Linked DNA regions of Homo sapiens: region 1 is linked to region 2. Evidence: promoter capture Hi-C in 16 types of primary human blood cells and fetal thymus (Javierre and others, 2016). All regions are on one chromosome and are shown on one strand. The core of a region is centred on a gene start or on the middle of the fragment in contact, and the rest is flanking DNA. Distances in the headings are between cores, read along the strand shown. Region 1 holds the start of ZNF471 (zinc finger protein 471). Region 2 holds the start of ZNF571 (zinc finger protein 571).

Evidence for each region. Contacts are between HindIII fragments. The CHiCAGO score rates a contact against its expected background, and 5 or more counts as called.
Region 1: a contact is called between a fragment that was not itself captured here and the fragment with the promoter of ZNF571 in region 2, in 1 of 17 cell types (total B cells). The highest score is 5.3, in total B cells.

Annotation. Positions count from the first base shown.
Region 1 is chr19:56,503,528-56,511,083 of GRCh38, forward strand. ZNF471 (zinc finger protein 471) reads left to right here and starts at 4,328. Exons shown (of 5, transcript NM_020813.4): 1 at 4,328-4,393. LOC124904776 (a long non-coding RNA gene) reads right to left here and starts at 223. Exons shown (of 3, transcript XR_007067352.1): 1 at 123-223. The HindIII fragment of the contact is 2,134 bases long and covers 1,767-3,900 here.
Region 2 is chr19:37,590,424-37,597,371 of GRCh38, forward strand. ZNF571 (zinc finger protein 571) reads right to left here and starts at 4,369. Exons shown (of 4, transcript NM_016536.5): 1 at 4,318-4,369. ZNF540 (zinc finger protein 540) reads left to right here and starts at 4,453. Exons shown (of 5, transcript NM_001172225.3): 1 at 4,453-4,672. RefSeq lists enhancers at 3,330-4,011, 3,811-3,940, 4,011-4,060, 4,012-4,694, 4,291-4,490 and 2 more. The HindIII fragment of the contact is 14,201 bases long and covers 1-6,948 here.

The DNA of each region.
Region 1 (7,556 bases), core at 1,584-4,083, about 19 Mb after region 2:
GAATAATTTGTATGGACAAAGCACGTTGACTGAGCTTCTGTTGCTAACTGGAGGTATCGGATATTTAACAACACTTAGAAGTTTGGATGGCAACATTCATTTAAACTGTGAGACAGTAATACCTGTTGAGGTGCAGAAACTCCACTACCCCTTCAAGAATCCTTTTTTTTTTTTTGAGACAGAGTTTTGCTCTTGCTGCCCAGGCTGGAGTTCAGTGGCGTGATCTCGGCTCACCACAACCTCCGCCTCCCAGATTCAAGCGATTCTCCCGCCTCAGCCTCCCATAGCTGGGATTACAGGCATGAGCCACCACGCCCGGCTAATTTTGTATTTTTAGTAGAGACAGGGTTTCTCCATGTTGGTCAGGCTGGTCTCGAACTCCCGACCTCAGGTGATCCTCCTGCCTCAGCCTCCCAAAGTGCTGGGATTACAGGCGTGAGCCACTGCACCTGGAAGAATCCATTTTTTTTTTGAGACAGGGTCTTGCTCTGTTGCCTGGGCTGGAGTGCAGTGGTGTGACTATGGCTCACTGCAGCCTTGAATTCCTGGGCTCTAGCAATCCTCCCACTTCAGCCACCTGAGCAGCTGGGACTACAGGCATGGGCCAGCATGTCCAGCTAATTTTTTTGATTTTTAGAAGAGACGAGGTCTTACCATTTTGCCCAGGCCAGTCTCAAACTCCTGAGCTGAAGCAGTCCTCCCAGCTCGACCTCCCGAAGTGCTAGGATTACAGGTGTGAGCCACTGCACCTGGCCAAGAACCCATATTTAGAGTCAGACTCACCATATCCTTGAAGAAACCATTCCAAATATTATTTAAATGACTCCGTATTTTTGACCATCCTCATTCTCCAGAAATAATAACCAAAAGTAACTATATCTCTGGGATTTCTCACTAGGTAAACAATCTTAAATGAAAAAGAGAGATAATAAGAATAAATGTATCCATTCTTCTTGCTTCAAGATTCTTGCAAAAGGCAAAAAACATCAAACTCCCATTAAAGTTTTGGCTATAGCTTGTCCTTCTTTAATTCATTCATTTAACAAAATGTATTGATAACCCACTATGTGCTTGACATCTACTTAGACACTGTAGAAGGAACAGAGGACAAGATACGGGTCATTTCTGCCCTGAAGAACATTATAATATAAGGCAGGGAAGAGGCTAACTAATGTTTGGACAATCAAATGATGTTACTACACTTGGGCACCACTGTTTAAGAATCCCTGGGCTGTAAATCAGGAACTGTGAGTTTGTTGGGATTCTGCCAGAGACTCTGACTCAGTGCTACTCCAGGAATTTTATCTTTCAGACCTCTCTTTCTTTTTGTAGGAATTCCTACTCTATCCCATATAAGCAAATCTCAGGGACTAAGCAAGTAGATGTTAGCAGTCAACCATATGTAAGATTCTTTTATAAAATTCAACATGATGGCGTGAATAAACTCACTATGCTACCACTGGTTGTGAAACCTGAAGAGATTAAACAAACTTTGCATTTTCTCAAAACAAACAAAAAAGAGTTTGTTAGAATTAATAAAGCTGACCCCAAGCTAGGATAAGTTGGATCCAGTGTCATACAAGGCCATTTCCAATTCTAAACAAATAACGTTGACCACATGGAGCCTGTGGGGAAAACTGGTCAACTCTCACCTGAAGTTCCAAAAGTTGAGAATATCATATTCTGTCCCAGAAATTAATTTGTAATCCAAATTCACCTGGTCACCAACACTGTTGTTAAATTTGATATTCTTCAGAAAGGAGTTAAGCTTAAAAATAGTGCACTGTTACAGGATGGAAAGAGTTCTGAATTTGGAAAGAAGAAACTTGAATTAGAGTAATACCTTTGAAACTTATTAGATGTGTGGCTTTGGAAAAAGTCCCTTATTGTTTAAATCTTCAACTGTAAAGTTAGTTATTCAATTTTATTTTTACAAGAATTATGTGAGATAATACCTTTGATGGCCCATGAACAAAAATGTGGTATATATAAAGTAAAAATTAGATAAAGAAAACATTATATATGTAATGTAATGATAATTTAATATATAGTATGATAATGGAAATACCCCTTACTTCCTTGGTGGGATGAATGAGGACAGAAGAATCAAAATAATCTCTTGTTATTGGTTGAATTTTGTCTGCCCCAAATTTTGCATGTTGAAGTCCTAACTCCCAGTACCTCAGAATGTGACTGTATTTGGATATAGGATTTTTACAGAGTTAATTAAGTTGAAATGAGGTCGTTAGGGTGGGTCCTAATGCAATCTGACTAGTCTCACCATGTCTCCATGGGTTTTCTCTGGGTACTCCAGATTCCTCCCACATCCCAAAGATGTGCACAGTAAGTTAACTGGTATGTCTAAGTTGTCCCAGTCTGAGTGAGTGTGGGTGTGTAGTAGGCTACACAATCTAGGTTTGTGTAAGTACACTCTATGATGTTTGCACAACAAGGTTCTTAGGAAATTGCCTAAGAACCCATTTCTCAGAATGTATCTCCATCCTTTAGCGATGTAGACTGTATTTCCATACTGTAAATAGTCCCCTTGTGGTGGATTTCAATCTACCAATATGACATCACTGAATGTGGAGTTAGAAAGAAAGGTACAGTTCATGGCTCTCAGTTCCTACAGCTCTTTTAATTTCCTAAATGACTGCAGCAATAAAGTATCTTTTGTTAAAATATCTGGCCTTTTGTTCCTGGTTCCTGAAAAAGCTCCAGAACAGCTCCAGAGCCATAAAGGTGAAAGACAGTATTTCAACCACACATGAGTTTATGTTAATGAGGTGATTTTTGGAAACTCTCAAGATAATCCCAATATTTGGGGGGAGTGGTGGCTAGTTGCCAGAGGAACCAGCCATGTGCTCAGAGGACTGGAACTCACAGCTCCACCCTCTACTTCTGGGAAAAGAGAGAGCCTGAAAATTAAGTTGATCGCCAGTGGCCAATGATTTAATCAATCACATCTACATAATGAAACCTTGAAAACCGAAAAGGCCTGAGTTCAAGCGGCTTCCAAGAAGGTAGACAAAAACACATCCTCGTGCTGGGAGGGTGGTGCACCCCAACTCCACGGGCACAGAAGTTCCTGCACTAGGGATTCTCTCGGACCTTGCCCTACATGTCTCTTCATCTGGCTATTTGTATCCTTTAAAATATCTTTTATAATAAACCAGTAAACATAAGTGTTTCCTTGAGTTCTGTGAGCTGCTCTAGCAAACTAATGGAACCCAAGGAGCCGGCTGTGGGAGCCCCAATTTATAGCACATCTCTCTGAAACACAGGTACAACAATCTGGAGTTTGGAATTGGCATGGGAAGTGGGGGACAGTCTTTTGGGACTGAGCTGTCTAACCTGTAGGATCTGATGTTTTCCAGGTAGCGTCAGAATTGAATTGGAGTAGCGGTCACCTGGCTGGTGTCTGCTGCAGACAGGTTTTTTTGACATGTTAAGACATTATAAGAGACAATAGAAAAAATGTATACGATACAACCTTCTCTGAGTTATATTTCTCCATAGCCCTTTTTACTGTTCATCAGACTGTTTATCTAACTCATGAATTTGTGGCTTGTCTCTCTCCGCTTCAAAGTAAATTACATAATAAGAGGACAGGGATTTTTTTTTCTCTGCTGTATCCCCCTGAATTGCTTTTCCTTATTTGTCTCACCTTCCAATACTAATTCTACAGTTCTCCTAGTCAGGGCTAGTCCCCTAAAACGGGGACCATTTCCATTTTGTTAAGGGGCTGAACGCGGTTCAAGCCTAGCAGATTGGTTCCAAAAACGTCGTGTTATTCACTGCCTCTGATCAGTGACATTCCCATTTGCAGCTGAAAGAGGTATTAATTCGCCAGAGTCACAACACGGTCGGGGTTCCTCGTCGCTGTCTTATTCCAAAATAAGCTTAACACAGAAAGATAATGACACTCCCACGGACTGGCACAGAAGGCCGCGCTCCGAATGACATCGCGATCACAGAGGCACAGACAGCGTCACAAAGCCCCACGCGTACTCACACCGAAGGCTCAGCCGTCGCGCGTTTCCCTCCCAGGCCCCAGGAACTAGTAACTAGGGACGCTTCTGGTCTCTAGGCGAGGAGAGGGGGAGAGCGCAATCTTTGCGCCTGCGCACACTCCTGCTCTTACCCGCCGGAACCCTGGGCCACGCCCGGCTCGCGTAATCACGCACTGCGCAGGCACCGCCCGCTCTGCTCTAAGGTCCCTCTCACTCCTTCAGCAGCCCGAGGACAATCCCCTCAACACTAGGCCACGCCTTGTCTCCGCCCCTCTCGTCCGACCCCTGGAGAGAGGCTGGCGCCTGCGCGATGGGGGGTTCCAGCGTCGACTCACGGAGTCCTTCGGATGAGAGCGTCTGGGTGCCAGACGAGGCCGGGGGTTTGTTTTGGGTGGTTTGGGAGTCCGAGCTCGAGGGCTGGGCCAGGAAGGGCAGGCGAGGCGGGCGGCTCCGACGCGGGTCGCGAAGGCCCAGCCGCGTCCTCTGTCCCCAGGACGACTACATTTCCCAGAGGCCAGCGGGGCGCGCGTACTCGAGTCTGCGGGGCGGAGGCCGCGGCTCGGGGCTGCTGGGCGTTCGGGGCGGCTTGGGGCGGCGGGACCACTGGAGTGAGCTGTGGGAGAGATGGGGGTGTGCCTGTGTGTAAAAGATCTGTCAGAGTGTGAGGCTCCGTGAGAGGGTGTGGTTTCTGTGTGTGTGTGTGTGTGTGTGTGACAGACCGAGAGTCCAGTGTGAGACCAGGGTATGTTCGTGTGTGACAGAGCGAGACGGGCCAGTGTGAGAGACCAGTGAGTGTGAGAGAGATAGGGATGTGCCTGCATTTGAAAGAGAGCGTGTGAAGCTCAGTGAGAGGTTGCGAGGTGTGTGGGTGTGTAAGTGTGTAACAGACCAGGTGTCCAGAGCGTGAGACCAGGATGTATTCGTGTGAGAGAGTGAGACGGGCTGGATGGAGTGTGAGAGACCAGTGAGTGTGAGAGATGGGCGTGTGCCTGTGTGTGAAAGGCCGGTCGGTCGGTGGGTGAGGCTCAATGAGAGGCCGGTGTGTGTTCGAGAGAGAGAAGAATCACCATGTATGCGAGACTAGACTGTGCAAGAACAGAGTGTGAGACTGTGGTATGTTAATGTGTGAAAGGGAGACCAGTGAGTGTGAGAAATGGGTGTTTTGGGTGAAAGACCCGTCAGTGTGTGAGGCCGTGTTATGTGTGTCTGACAGACTGAGAGAGACCAGAGTGTGAGACCAGGGTGTGTTCGTGTGTGAGAGACAACATAGCGTGAGACCAGTGAGTGTGAGAGAGATGAGCACGTGGCTGTGTGTGAAAGACCAGTCATTATGTGAGGCTCCTTGAGAGGCTGGTGTGTGTGTATGAGAGAGAGAAAGAGACTAAACTGTGAGAGTCCAAAGAGTGAGACTAGGTTATGTTGTTATGAGTTTGTGAGAGAGAGGGAGGCGATCAAAGTATAGGACAAAGTTATGTTTCCTGGCTTACGACTTCTAAGATCCTTGGAATCTCCAAAGTATTAAGTGTCTTTTTGCATGCTAATGATTGGTGGGCTGGCAGCCTGTAGGTTGATCACGGTAAGGGATGGTCACAAGAACAATCTAGGCAGGATTAGAGGGTTGGGATTACCTGCCCCATCCCTCAATCTCCAGGGAAAGGAAAGGGAGCCACAGGTTAAACTGATCATCAGTGGTCAGTGATTTAACCAGTCATGCCTACATTATGAAGCTTCCATAAAAACCCAAAAGGACTGGGTTCATCAAACTTCCAGATAGCTGAACACTGGAGGTTCCTGTAGGATGAGCCCCTTCCTATATAACCTTGTCCTATGCATTTCTTCACCTGCATCCTTTGTAATATCCTTTATTACTACAAACGTGTTTCCCTAAGTTCTGTGAGCTGCCCTAGCAAATTAATTGAACGCAAGGAGGGGGTCATAGGAACCCCGATTTATAGCTAGTCAGAAGCACAAGTAAAACAACCTGGGGTTTGCAACTGGCATTGGAAGTGGGGAGCAATTTTGTAGGGCTGAGCCCTCAACCTGTGGGATCTTATGCTGTCTCCAGGTAGATAGTGTCAGAATTGGGTTGCCCTAGAGGTCACCCACCTGGTATTCACTGGGTTGCCCTAGAGGTCACCCACCTGGTATTCACTGAAGAACTTATTGCTTGCCTGGTGTGTGTGTGTGTGTGTGTGTGTGTGTGTGTGTGTGTGTAGATCCCCACACATCTGGTCTTAGAACTGTTTTGTGTTGTGTGAGTGGAGTAGGAGAAACAGTTTGTTTTTCCTCTTTGTCACCTGAGTGTGTTATCAGGGACTGGATTGTGAGAATCCAGAGTGTGAGACCAGGGTATATCAATGTGTGAGAGAAATAGATGTGCCTGTGTGAAAGATGAACAAGTATGAGGCTCCCTGGAGTCTGAGAAAGATCATGTGTGTGTCTGAGTAAAAGCAAGAGACTAGACTGAGAGTTCAGTGATTGGGAGAGACTGGGGTATGTTGGTGTGAGTGTGTGAGAGACCAATGGGTATGTGAGAGACTAGAGTATGTCTCTGTCTGGACTGGTAGGTTGTGAGAGGGTGTATCACAGTATGAAAAAGATTGGAGTGAGAGTGACCAGTATGTATTTTGTGTGCATGAGATAAAGCAGTTGGAATATGAGAGATCAGAGTGTGTTTGTGTATCTGTGTGAGACACTGGAGCATTTGAGTAACTGAGGCCTCTTTGAAAGATACCATTGAATGTGTATGTATGAGAGACCATCATGTTTATATGTGTGAAAGAGGGAGAGAAAGACTAGTGATGTGGTTGTGTGAGAGACCAAAATGGGTGAGAAAGAAACTATGTGAACCATGGTGTGTTATCCAAAAGGCTTTACAAATATAACCTCTGTGAGGTTGTGAAGCATGCATGTGTGAGTGAGACAGAGATAAGGGACAGTGAGCTGTGTGTGTGAGAGAAGTAAGATTGGGGGTATGTGTGAAGGTGTTGGTGAATCACCACGTGTGCTTATATTCATGTCCTCAGGCAATGGAAATGTGACTGTGTATATGTGCTTGTTTTGGGGTGCTTGTGATTGTGTCCTCCGTGTGACCATGAAACCTGTGTTAGTGTTTGTATGTCACCCTGTATACCCATAATTGTGGCCCTGTATGACTGCTGTGTATGGAGAGACTACTTGGAAGATTGATAGGATTGGATTCTTTATGAGTGTGGCTGTTTGGAATTGTGTGTTGCCGGGATAGGAAATGTGGAATAGAATTCCTGTCCCCAGTCCAAGGGTTTCAGTAAGAAGCAAAGCTGGGGTGACTGAAGCTCCTAACTGAAGCAGGAGACACCCTCACTTCTGTGTGACAGGAGGGTAATTAAGGGGCTGGGACAGAGGTGAGAGTGAAAGTGGCAGAATTGAGTGCTAAAGGTTCCATCGTTTCAGGGTGAGGAAAGTGAAACAGTGCCGGGGGGTGGGTCAGGGATGCAGTGGTGGGGATTGAGTGAAGAAGGAGGATAACCCTGGCCTCTGGTGGCATTTGGGAGTCAGATTTTC
Region 2 (6,948 bases), core at 3,119-5,618:
AGAAGAAGAAAAAAAAAGCTATAAGGACAAAATTGTAACAATTGGTGAAATTTTTCTATGAACTCTGGATTAGACAATTATTACATCTCTGCTACATTTCATTTTAATAAATGAACTATAGTTATAGTCCCCTGTGCTCAGAAAATACACTAATATAATTATAGATAAAGGAAAATGATGTCTGAAAATTACTATCAGGTAGTTCAGAAGTATATATGTAGAGAGAATTAGCAAACAAAAAAGCAAAATGTTAAAAACTGGTAAATATGTAAGGACATAGGACAGTTTTTTCTATTATTTTTGCAACTTCTCTGTAAGTGTAATATTATATCAAAATAAAAATTTTAAAAAACCAATGCTATGTGAGTACTGATTTTTAATTAAGAGACTAAAGAGGCATAACCAAATGTAATCCATGAACCTTAAATATAGCAAAACATAAAAACCAAAAGAAATCTAAAATGCATTCTCTATCTTAACAGTAGTGACAGTTACTGTTGTTTTCAAACAATTATATTTTAGAATAAAGAACGTAAATTATATTAATGTTTTAGCAACCAAGATTGTTAGCATAAAACAGAGATACAAGTATAAAATCAAACAAGAAAATACTCTGTAATTTGTCTGAACTATTATTATAAATTCATGATTCATGATTTATACTTTAAAAACAAGTTATTAGCTTTGTTCCCTGAAATGGCCTAGAATAAACGACAGCCTTATGGCAATGAGAAACTCTAATGCCCAGACAGTGGTCACTGTACACTGTATACCACAAGAGGAATCAGAACTCCTTAGAGAAATGGCTCATTTCAGGGCTGGCACAGGAAATGTAGAAGTTGATCTTGGGATCATTTGTTCTGCCAGAAAGCAAATAAGCTATCAACTCTACTAGAATCATGACAGAAAGACACAGAACTGCCTGGAAAGGACTACCACTGGCTTAAAAAAGAGCAGTTTGATATAAAAAAGAATAATGATCACAATAGTTCGAAACATATGGTATTCAAAACAGACACTCCCTTTTGGGACTCCTTAGAAGGTTGTAGGGCACCAACTCATTTCTCTGAAAATATATAAAGGGAAAGAATCAAATCAATTACTCTGCCTTTCCATATGAACTGTATTTATTTATCTTGAGATGGAGTTTCACTCTTGTTGCCCAGGCTGTAGTGCAATGGCGCAATCTCGGCTCACCACAACCTCGGCCTCCCGGGTTCAAATGATTCTCCTGCCTCAGCCTCCCGAGTAGCTGGGATTACAGGAATGTGCCACCATGCCCAGCTAATTTTGTATTTTTAGTAGAGACGGGGTTTCTCCATGTTGGTCAGGCTGGCCTCAAACTCCCGACCTCAGGTGATTCGCCTGCCTCGGCCTCCCAAAGTGTTGGGATTACAGGCGTGAGCCACCACACATGGCCATGAACCGTATTTTAAGATAACCAAATACTTGATGAAAAAAAGTTCTTATATATAGAAGAACTGTAACTAATGAATACAGGAGGAATTGAGAGAATTTTTTTTTAATCACCATATATAACTGTTAATGAATGGGCCAGGCGCGGTGCCTCACACTTGTAATCCCAGCACTTTGGGAAGCTGAGGTGGGTGGATTACTCGAGGTCAGGAGTTGCAGACCAGCCTGGGCAACATGGTGAAACCCCGTCTCTACTAAAAATACAAAAATTAGCCAGGTGTGGTGGCACATGCCTGTAATCCCAGCTACTCGGGAGGTTGAGGCAGAAGAACCTTTTGAACCTGGGAGGTGGATGCTGCAGTGAGCTGAGATCACACCACTACACTCCAGCCTGGGCGACAGAGTGAGGAAAAAAAAATAAAGAATGGATCTTGGTATCAATCATAAGTGGACGTTATAACCTTTAGGTCAGTGCTTCTCAATCCTTCTAAAATTTTTCACGGTCATATCCCTAGGAACCTTTTTAGATACTTTTCTCTAATAGCCACCACTCTCATGAAATTTTATTACCATAGATATACTGTATATATGTTTATGTACTGTGGCCCTTTGGAGGACCACAGATCATTGTAATACCTATGAGTTTTTGTCCTCTTCCTTCTCAAAAACCAAGTTTCACCCACTTGGAAGGTGATATCCTCCACCCTCATTGAGAATGCATGCTTTAGGTGAAAAAAAGGAAAGGATTAAATGGACAGCATTTAAACACATCAATATGACATCACTGAAAGTGGGACATCAGACTGTAAGGGCCTCATGATGTGATGTAATAGGAAGTACACAGCACCAACTATGAATTAAAGGTGATTTAGGGAAAATCTGATCCAAATTCCATCAAACCTCTAGATCTAACTGCCTGTTTACAGAAATATGAAGGAACGGAAAACAAATTATAAGACAGTACAAAGAAGCAATTAGCTAAAAGCAGTATACAGAATATTCTACGGGACAGATGATCTAGTTTTTCTACAAATCAACAGCACCAATTAAACCAAAACAAAACACAGGAGGGAAACTATCATGCATTAAGTAAGTTTAACAGGTTTGGCCACCAAATGCAATGTGTGGACTCTATCTGGATCCAGATTTGAACACACCTATTGTAAAAATATGTCTTTGAAATAATTGGGAAAATCTGAATATGGGGGTATACAAGATTATGAAATAACCACCACGCTGTTACACCAACATAAGAAACAAATTTATTGTTTTAAACTTATTGTTAGTTTTTTTTTTTATGTTGGTATAACAGCATCATGGTTATTTTAAAATATAATGTCCTTTTTGGTAATATATGCTTATAAGAGGATAAAATACAATTTTGAAATACTATAGGAAAAAACGGGGAAGGATTGATACAAAGGTATTTACAAATGTTTTTAATTACAGCTAGGTGTTGAACATGTTGGGGTTCGTATTATTCTTTAGCCTGCTTGAAAACATCCACAATAAAGTTAAAATTTTAAAACTCTTCAAATTTCCCCCAGAAAGTACAGTTATTTTTCATCAAAACCTTAGACCAGGCCAGGCGCGGTGGCTCACGCCTGTAATCCCAGCACTCTGGGAGGCCCAGGCGGGTGGATCACGAGGTCAGGAGATCGAGACCATCCTGGCTAACACGGTGAAACCTCGTCTCTACTAAAAACACAAAAAATTAGCCGGGCATGGTGGCGGGCGCCTGTAGTCCCAGCTACTCGGGAGGCTTAGGCAGGAGAATGGCGTGAACCCGGAAGGCGGAGCTTGCAGTGAGCCGAGACCGCACCACCGCACTCCAGCCAGGGCGACACAGCGAGAATCCGTCTCAAAAAGCAAACAAACAAACAAAAAAATCTTAGACCAGAAAGGACTGCTGTATCATTGGGTGGAAAGGAGAGGTGTAGTGTGGCTGGGGAGTAGAGCTAAACTGATGATCCCATCCCCGCAGCATCATTTATGGGGTGCCTAAGGACCAGTCACTAGCATGGCTGGTTCTTCCTTAGGAAGATGTTGCTGGAGGTAGAAAACGTTTCGGAAAGGAAGAAATTTGAGGTTAGAAAGAAAACAGGAACTTCACACAAGACTTTCAGAAGTGCGATATTCTTTTCCTCTGGGTGCCTCTCTTGGAAAACGCAGAACCGAGAAAAGAAATAAGCATCATAGAACATCAGAGCTCTCGGAGCAGACGAAACAATTTAGGATAACACCAACCTCTAGAAAGGGATTAGTCTTCCCCACAGGGCTGTCAAGCTAGAATAGGACATCTTTAACAGTGGTCTTCTTCCTAAGACACTTCCAGGGGTAAAGCCTCACCATCAGGGAAACTTCAAAAAGAGCCTCTTACTCTGCAAAGAAACTGCAGCAGCTGTAACCGCACGATTCTCAGCTGGCTTAATGATGTCCGTGTCACACGAGGAGTACTGCGGCCCGGGAGGGGCCAAGCGCTAGGAGCATTAACAGGCGGCAGGTGAGCCCACCCCGCGGCCGCACAAGCGCACACGCACACGTCCAGGGCGGAGGAACACTACTAGTAACACCCGCCTCCTTCTAGCCTCCCTATCCCAAAGTTATGGTGCCGATTTTGTCCGCGGCAGGGGCTCCAGGGGCACACTCATAAATTCGGTGCGGAGGAACACAACTAGCAGCACCACACCCCCGCCACTGCCAGAACCAAAGTGACGGTGCCGACACCCCTCCGCAAGCGCAAGGCCGACTTCCATAAGTAATTAGCCAGAGCACCGTCCCGTTCCTGTCAGCACCGAGCCCCAGCCAGGACACCGGTATTCCCAGCACCATACAAGAACTACTTTTTCGATGAAGCAACCCAAAAGCTGCGAGCGGTTCCCGGTGAGGCCGCCCACTCACCTGGCCGGCGCAGACAAGCTCCGTGCGTCAAGACATAACAGCGTAAGTGTACGACGTTGCGCAGCGACGCGGGGGCCTTCGGGAAATGTAGTCTACAACTGGAAACCGGCCGGATCGTGTCTGCGCAGGCCCAGCAGCTAAGATCGGGTCCGGCGCTCCAGAACAGAACGATCCCTGAGGCTCCCTTGCTCGAACTGTGGGACTTACCCTACTATGGTCCGAGCCTACCCTATTTCATTATACTCAAGTAACGCCCCAGAAATTCCAGAGAATCTCACACAAAGAGGTTGAGTCTTGCCGTGGTGCCTTCAGGGGAATGTCATCCCGGGCTAGAAGAGCTGCAAAAGGCTGTCAGGTAAGGTCTGGATTTCTCTCTGACAGCTCTGGCCGTGACGCAGTGGCCACGATACCGGGTTGCTGCTCAACGGGGTTCGGAAGTGTGACGCATTCTTTGCGGCCATGTGTGTGTGTGTGCGTGTGTGTGTGGGTCTGTGCGCGCGCGTGTCCGAGTGTCCTCTGTGGGTGCAGAGTGGGTAGTGGCCATGCCTGTGTGATGTGCGTCAGATTATGCTTGAGGCTATTAGTGGCGCATTTAGTATTGTGTGCGGAAGGGTCTTGGGAATGGTTTGATTATAGCTTTGAGGGTGACTGATGTCTGTTTAATCAGATTCAGCCTGCGACTGAGTATCTTATAACCTGTAAGAAATTGATTTTTCTTTGCATGGTCATGAATTTAAAATAGATTCCCATGAAATTATATAAATGTAGTGAATGATTCATTGAGAGTTCGCCTGTGGCAGTGAATGTGGGGAAAGAAGTGTGTGAGCATAATATGGTGAGAATGAGCACGATTGTGTGCAGCGCTGTATTATAGTGATATCTCCTGGCTTCAGTTTTCTCACCTGTAAAGTGAGGGTGTCAGTCGTGTAACGCTTTGGAACAATGCTTTTTAATAGGAATTTCTGCAAAACTGAGTTCCATTTTTTATATCTGTGCTCTCCAATATAGTAGCCACTAGCTACATATGGCTATTGAGAAATTGAAATGTGGCTGGTTTGACTGAGGAACGAATTTTTTAAATTGTGTTCAATTTTAATAAATCTAAATGTAAACAGCTATATATGGCTAATAGTCTTCCTATTGAACAGTACAACCTGGAGCATTAATTTGCCTTCAAGATTTGAAGGGGGTAAAAACTTAATTCATCTAGCAAATATTTGAAAATGAAATTCTTAAAACTTCCTTAAATTTTTTTTTAAATTTGAGATGATTGTAGATTCATATGAGGTTGTAAGAAATAATAGAGACATTGTGTGTTATCTTCAACTTAGTCTTCTCCAATGACAACATCTTGCAGGACTGTAGTATAATATGACAACCAGGATGTTGACATTGATAGTCAAGATAGATCATTTCCATCACCTCGAGGATCTGTTGTGTTGCCCTTTTATAGACAAATGCACTTTCTTCCCTCTTGTTTGAAGATATTCGCGTCAACATTAATGATAATGTAGGCATACCTCATTTTATTGTGCATCATTTTATTGCACTTTGCAGATACTGTATTTGTTTGTTTTAAAGAGACAGGCTCTCACTGTCTCACCCAGGCTGGAGTGCAGTGGTGCAGTTATAGCTCACTGCAGTCTCGAACTCCTGGGTTCAAGGGATCCTCCAGCTGGCCCACAAAGCCTGAAATATTTATTATGTGGTTCTTTGCAGGAAAAGTTTGCAGACTCCCAATCTATATTATTTCTGATGGCTACTTTATTTTCTATTATATGGATACACTAGAATTTATTTAACCTGTTCTTTATTGAAGTCTAATTTATGTTTGTATCTAGCTTTTTCCATTTTAAAATTAGTCTATCTGCACCTGTCTGCATATATCCTAGTGAACATATATAATTATTTTCCTTAGACAGGGTCATAGGAGTGGGATTACTGAAACATCTGGCTCATATTATTAAATTCTGCTAATATAAATTTCTAATTTACCCTCTTTAAGGTGGCACCAGTGTATAACATGGCGTGAGGGCATCTATTTTACTCCAGTTTAACATGTTATTATCAGTCTATTCAATGTTCCCGTGTTGTAAATATAAAATGCTATTTGCCACTTTAACGTATATTATCTTAATAAGTAGCAACATTTAATAGCTTTTAGTCATTAAACCCAAGTCATTATTCACGCTTGGGTTTTATTAGGCGTAATAAGAAATTCTGGGTATCAGTGACAAGAGCACAGTTGAAAAAGAACTGGCTTTGTAGTTGGAGAATTGTGGATTCAGAACTCAGATGTCTTGTTTATTAACAGTGGATTTAGGTTTCTGTTTTTCTGATGTTGAAGTGGAGATAATAATGACATTGTAGAACTGTTCTAAGGATTAAATAGCTATATATAAGGTATGCATCACATAAAAGTTGATTTTTTTTTTATTGCTTCCAGGGCCATAAATTTACTTCTCCCTCTAGTTTGGGTACTGAGGGAGAAGGGAGGGTGAATGATGTCCTGCAGGGACCCTGGGGACTCTTCTGATTGAGGGAAATGGGGAGTGGTGAGCCCTGAGGATTGTGGGAGTTCCAGTTCAGGCTAGGAAAAGGGATCCCAGTGTGCAAGTATAATTTTGCAAT